Linked DNA regions of Homo sapiens: region 2 is linked to region 1. The links are contacts of gene promoters, found by promoter capture Hi-C in human tissues and cell types (Jung and others, 2019). All regions are on one chromosome and are shown on one strand. The core of a region is centred on a gene start or on the middle of the fragment in contact, and the rest is flanking DNA. Distances in the headings are between cores, read along the strand shown. Region 1 holds the start of APLNR (apelin receptor). Region 2 overlaps LOC105369310 (a long non-coding RNA gene).

The links. Contacts are between HindIII fragments. The study calls those that stand out against the background at their distance.
Region 2: a fragment that was not itself captured here is called in contact with the fragment with the promoter of APLNR in region 1 in 1 of the 25 tissues and cell types used here (H1 embryonic stem cells).

Annotation. Positions count from the first base shown.
Region 1 is chr11:57,236,000-57,239,119 of GRCh38, forward strand. It overlaps APLNR (apelin receptor), which reads right to left and starts at 1,251. Exons shown (of 1, transcript NM_005161.6): 1 at 1-1,251. The coding sequence starts at 1,005. RefSeq lists an enhancer at 893-1,525. The HindIII fragment of the contact is 13,017 bases long and covers 1-3,120 here.
Region 2 is chr11:56,933,379-56,936,498 of GRCh38, forward strand. All of the region lies in intron 1 of LOC105369310 (a long non-coding RNA gene), which reads right to left. Among named protein-coding and RNA genes, the nearest start is that of OR5AK2, 54 kb to the right of the region's middle. RefSeq lists an enhancer at 1-344. The HindIII fragment of the contact is 3,677 bases long and covers 1-3,120 here.

The DNA of each region.
Region 1 (3,120 bases), core at 1-2,500:
GGAGGTGCCTGCGCACCTGCTCTGGCCACAGCAGAGCATGGAGGTGCAGGCCTGGCGGAAGCGGGGGTCGAAAAAGGCATAGAGGAAGGGGTTGAGGCAGCTGTTGACGTAGCTGATGCAGGTGCAGTAGGGGAAGATGTTCATGAGGAAGAGGTCAAAGTCACAGGGCCAGTGCAGCAGGCTGCCCAGCATGTACAGCGTCTTCACCAGGTGGTAGGGCATCCAGCACAGGGCAAAGGTCACCACCAGCACCACGATGATGCTGAGCAGCCGGCGCCGCTTCCGCAGGCCCTCGATGCGTTCCTTGCGGAAGTGGCCAGCGATGGTTTGGGCGATGAAGAAGTAACAGGTCAGCATGATGGTGAAGGGCACCACAAAGCCCACGGTGGTGGACGAGACCCCAAGGCCCACCTCCCAGGCCCACTCTGAGCTCACAGTGGCCACCATGGAGTAGTCCATGTAGCACTGCACCTTAGTGGTGTTCTCCAAGTCCCCGGTGGTGCGTAACACCATGACAGGCATGGCCAGGAGGGCGGCCAGCACCCAAAGAACTGCCGTGGCCACGGCCCCGCTGACCCGCAGCCTCAGCCGAGCATTGGCCACTGGCCTCACGATGGCCAGGTAGCGGTCGAAGCTGAGGCCGGTGAGGCAGAAGACGCTGGCGTACATGTTGACGAAGATGAGGTAGCTGCTGAGCTTGCAGAAGAAGGTCCCAAAGGGCCAGTCATAGTCCCGGTACGTGTAGGTAGCCCACAGGGGCAGCGTCACCACGAAGGTCAGGTCAGCCACCGCCAGGCTAGCAATGAAGATATCAGCTGAGCGCCTCTTCTCCCGGCTGCTCCGAAACACGGTCCAGAGCACCAGACCGTTGCCCGTGGTGCCCAGGAGGAAGACCAACATGTAGATGGCAGGGATGAGGGCCCCCGAGGATTTCCAGTCTGTGTACTCACACTCAGACTGGTTGTCTGCCCCATAGTAGTTGTCAAAATCACCACCTTCCTCCATGCTGGGGAGTGGAGAGAAGACGGGCAGAGGGTCCCAGGGACACCAGCTCCGTGGCTCTGTCACCCACTCTGCAAGCAGCCTGAATTTCTGGCTTGAGCCTCAGAGAGTAAGAAGGGCTGAAGATGCCCAGAGTCCTTCCCAGCACTCAGGAGGAGCTGCCTCTGGGTTCTCCAGACCCTGGAGGAAGCCTGTCTCCTGCAGAATTTCCTCCACCCTCTCTTGCCTTACCCCCGTCTCAGTTAAGACACTTCCTTGCACCCTCCTGCGTCCCTGTCTCCTCCTTGACTCGTCACTCCCTCCTCCCACCTCCAGACCAGCCCCTCTCTTGTGAGTCAAAATCTTTAGTGACAGCCCACTTTTTTTTTCTTTTTGTCACTGAGCAAGTGGACCAAATTGACCCCTACTGTGCTGGGCTGAACATTATCTGTGGTTTTGCAAGTCGGCTTTCCTGGCCCCGCCTCTCCTTTCTGGCTGCCACCCACCTTCACCCCAGCCCCTATCCCTCCACTTTCCTCTGGCCACCACTTCCTGCCTGCCCTTTAGGGCACTCCCTCCTCAGTGCTCTCCGCCCTCCTGTTCTCACCCCCTTCCATCCAATCTAAATGGGACACATTATGCAGATTGCAATCCAGCTTGAGCTGGAGCCAGGGCTGGTAGGGAGCAAGGAGGGTGTAAGATTTCGCAGGATGGGCAGGGCATCTGGCAGGTCCTCCTGGCAGGCAGGTCTGGCCCCCTCGGCTCCCTTCCTGCACCCCCAGCCCCCACCCAGACCAGGTGTCACAGGAGGGTCTTCTCCCACTTTGCCTCTCGCTTCATCTTTCTCTACCCCTTGGCTTTGACCCTCCCTCTGAGAACTTTTGTGGTTTCTAGAGAAATACCCCTACACTAGTGTAGACTGCAGTTTGCAGTTTGCGGAAGGCACAGGATGCTTTAGAAGGTTGAGGGCAGTCACAGGATGGAAGAAACCCAGGACAAAATTATCTCTAAACAAGTCATTAAATCTGTAGGAAACAAAGGCCCAACAAGGTCAATGTTTTGCCCAAGGTAATAAAGTGAATTATGCTACAGTTGATTGTTTGCTTTTCTTCTTCTCCAAACACGAACATAATACAGTACCTGGCATGTCGTAGGTGAATGGCTGTTTTGTTTGTTTGTTTGTTTGTTGAGACAGAGTTTCACTCTTGTTGCCCAGGCTGGTCTAGGCTCACTGCAACTTCTGCCTCCTGGGTTCAAGCGATTCTCCCGCCTCAGCCTCCCTAGTAGCTGGGATTGCAGGCTAATTTTTTTGTATTTTTAGTAGAGATGGGGATTGACCAGGCTAGTCTCAAACTCCTGACCTCAGATGATCCACCCACCTCGGCCTCCCAAAGTGCTGAAATTACAGGCATGAGCCACCACGCCCAGCCAGGTGAATGGCTGTTGAGTGAGTAAGTGGATGGATGATGTAGGAGGTGAGTGAAAAGGGGAATCCATAGATGGAAGAACAAGTGTAAGAATTACTACGTGGTGAGAACATGGATACATTTCAGTTCTCAGGTTTTTACTATCCTCCATGGACCAAGAGGTTTCTGTAAGACCACAGGGGGTCAGGAAGTTGAGCTAGAGGAGGGGGGTCTCTAGAGAAAGACTCAGTCACTGGAGGATACTGTGGGGAAAGTTCCGTAGACGCTCACTTTGCCCCAGCTCATCACCTCTCCAGGACCTCTAGGAAGGAAGGAAGATGCACGACGTAAGATTTTTTTTAAAAAATACGCACCCTTTCCACAACCTTGAAGAGTTGGGGAAGCCACCTGACGTTGGGTAATAGTGAGATGGAACAAAAGCAGGAGCTGAGCCTTAGCCACTTCCAAGGCAAAAGACTTACAAAAGCTGGAATTGGCCAGGCAAGGTGGCTCATGCCTATAATCCCAGCACTTTGGGAGGCCAAGGCAGGAAGACTGCTTGAGCCCAGGAGTTCAAGACTAGCCTGAATAACACAGCCAAGACCCTGTCTCACGATATATATTTGTCTTAAGTTACTACAAAAGCTGGAATCCATTTTCTGGAGGGAGAGTGGATCAGAAAATCATATGCAGAGATCAAGGAACTCAAACTCAAATACCTGCAAAAAAAAAA
Region 2 (3,120 bases), core at 346-2,845, 300 kb before region 1:
CTCAGTTATATTTTCTTTCCCAGAACTGTTTATGAAAGTTTGAAAATACAGCAATGTTGAAATAATTTTATAGTGAATATCTATATGGCCATCACTTGATTTCAACATTACTATTTCAGTAAATTTCCTCCATCCCGTGTCTATTCATCTACCCATCTCTCAATATATCCATTAATCCACTTTATTTTTATGCACTTCAAGTAAATTTCCTGAGGGTACTTTTAAAACTAAACATCAAATAATTTAGACAACAAAGTATCTTTTTCCTCTTCAATAAAGAATTGATACAAATTCAGAACACTAACAGGAAAATTCTAGACTTAAGCTTGACACTTGACCAACTGGACCTCATAACCATCTACGGAATATTCCACCCAGCAACCACAGAATCACGCAATATATCTTTATAACAAACTGTACATGTACCCCAGAATCTAAAATAGAAGTTGAAAAACAAAGTGGCAAAAATTGTGTAGCAGCCGCATCTCTAAGAAAACATAATGTAGTTATCATTTCTGAAAAATCAATTATTAACTCCCCACAGAATAGACCTTCTCATATATAGAGAGCTATCATATATAGATATATGTAGATATCTATATATATTCTCATATATACTTATCTCTCATATCAGAGACATATCTAGAGAGAAATATCTATGTATCTATCTAGAGATATATAAATAGAAAAATAGATGTCTATATATAAAAATATATATAGATATATAGATATAACAGAGAGATATATGAGATATATATATATAACTTCATGATCCTTCATATATATCTTTATTATTCTCTTTCATTTGCAACATTAATTGAGCACTTACCATTTATCAGGCATTGACCTAGGTGATGTGAATGAAGAGTCAGAAGCCCTACCTCTAGGAGTTTATATTCTAGTGCAGAAGGCAGTCAATAAACAAGTAAATGGAAGAAAAAACAAGATGATTACATTTAAAGAAAATAAATAGGATGAGGTGAGAGAGAATGATAAGCAGGGGACTAGATTAGTTCAGGGGGTCAGGCAGAAGGGAATCTGAGAATATTGAAGGAGCCTGCCATGACATCCTGAGAAGCAGAATCATCAAAGGCAAGTGCAAAGGCCCTGAGGCAGGAGCAAATTTCTGTTCGGACAGCAGAGTAGGAGGCCTATGTGACTGTAGAACTGTTTGCAAGGTGGTTTCCTCACTATCACTTAAATTTCATTCCTCCATAAGTATGGTTGGCCTTGGCTTTTTGACAGCATTCGAAATAATTTCCTATTACTTATATAAGCATAGTTTTCTCTGGACACTCATCCCAGATTTAAATTACCAGGTTAATATTCCCTTTATAAGCTTTTGTGCCCTGTGCACCTCACTGATACAAATGATCTCTGCCTGTGCCACTCACAAGACTGAAAACTCCATGAGAGCAGTGATTCTGTATGCTGTTATTCACCATTTCATCCCTAGCAATGTATCCCTAGCAATCAAATCCTTAGCATTTTATCCTAACAATGGACTGGGGTCCACTGTTTGGCATAGAGACATAGAGTGGATGTTCAATAAATATTTTAGTAATGATTAGTTTGTTAGTTAATTAGAGCAATGATAGATAAGCCTAGAAAGTTAAACTGAGCTCGTATTGGGAAAAAAAATCTAAAATTCTAGCTGAAAAGTTTGTGCTTGGTTTAGTAGACCAGATGGGTCCATAGAGAAGAATGCAAAGAAACCTGACATGAGATCCTGATGGGCAAGATCATGAGAGGCAAGTGCAAAGGCCTGTGAGCTAAGGAGTAGTTTAATTGGAATTGAGCTCTGGAAAAACCTAACTTAAAACCACACAAAGGAAAGACTGGAAGAGTGAATAGCGTGGAGGTGGAGAGATCAATGAAGTTCCTATTGTGAAACCTGGGTGAGAGATAATGAGTTTGGCTGATAATAAAAATATGCAATGTAAGGGAATACACAGAGACACATTGTGGATACTGGATCCATAGAATATGGTAAGTAATTAAACATTCAGGGGAACCCAAAGACACCCCAAAGTTTGGATTGTAGGTGGCAGCAAAGTAGAGGATGAAGAAAACTAGAATGTGAAGCAAAAGCGAAGGGCTGCTTTTAAGCACCTTGAGTTTATGGTATGAAAAGAAAACCTAAATGAAGATGTCTAGCAGATAATTGGAAAAAATGTCCTTCTGGATTTTTTTTTTTTATACTTTAGGTTTTAGGGTACATGTGCACAATGTGCAGGTTAGTTACATATGTATACATGTGCCATGCTGGTGTGCTGCACCCATTAACTCTTCATTTAGCATTAGATATATCTCCTAATGCTATCCCTCCCCACTCCCCCCACCCCACAACAGTCCCCAGAGTGTGATGTTCCCCTTCCTGTGTCCATGTGTTCTCATTGTTCAATTCCCACCTATGAGTGAGAACATGCGGTGTTTGGTTTTTTGTCCTTGCGATAGTTTACTGAGAACGATGATTTCCAATTTCATCCATGTCCCTATAAAGGACATGAACTAATCATTTTTTATGGCTGCATAGTATACCATGGTGTATATGTGCCACAATTTCTTAATCCAGTCTATCATTGTTGGACATTTGGGTTGGTTCCAAGTCTTTGCTATTGTGAATAGTGCCACAATAAACATACGTGTGCATGTGTCTTTATAGCAGCATGATTTATAGTCCTTTGAGTATATACCCAGTAATGGGATGGCTGGGTCAAATGGTATTTCTAGTTCTAGATCCCTGAGGATCTTAAAAGGAAAATAAGGACAAAAGATACCAACTTGAGCATACTCCCCGAAGAGTTAACTGAGGAAAATAGTAGAGAAAGAGACTTGATTTGACAGAGAATCTTAAAGCTGTTTTCACTGCAGAAGAGAGATAAGAAAGCAGGACCAGTAGTGATAAAAAAGGATTAACCGAGACCTAGCAGGAAACATAAGACAGTGTATGATGCAGAAGGTGGGAGAGGAGAAAGTTTAGAGGTATGGCTAATAAGCAAAGACACATCCTGAGAGAAGGCATTATAGATGCAAGCCCATTTAATTTCATGTTTGACCAACTTTGCTCAGTTTGAAAAAATTGAGTTGGGTTTATACCAAGCAGGAACTAAACATCCA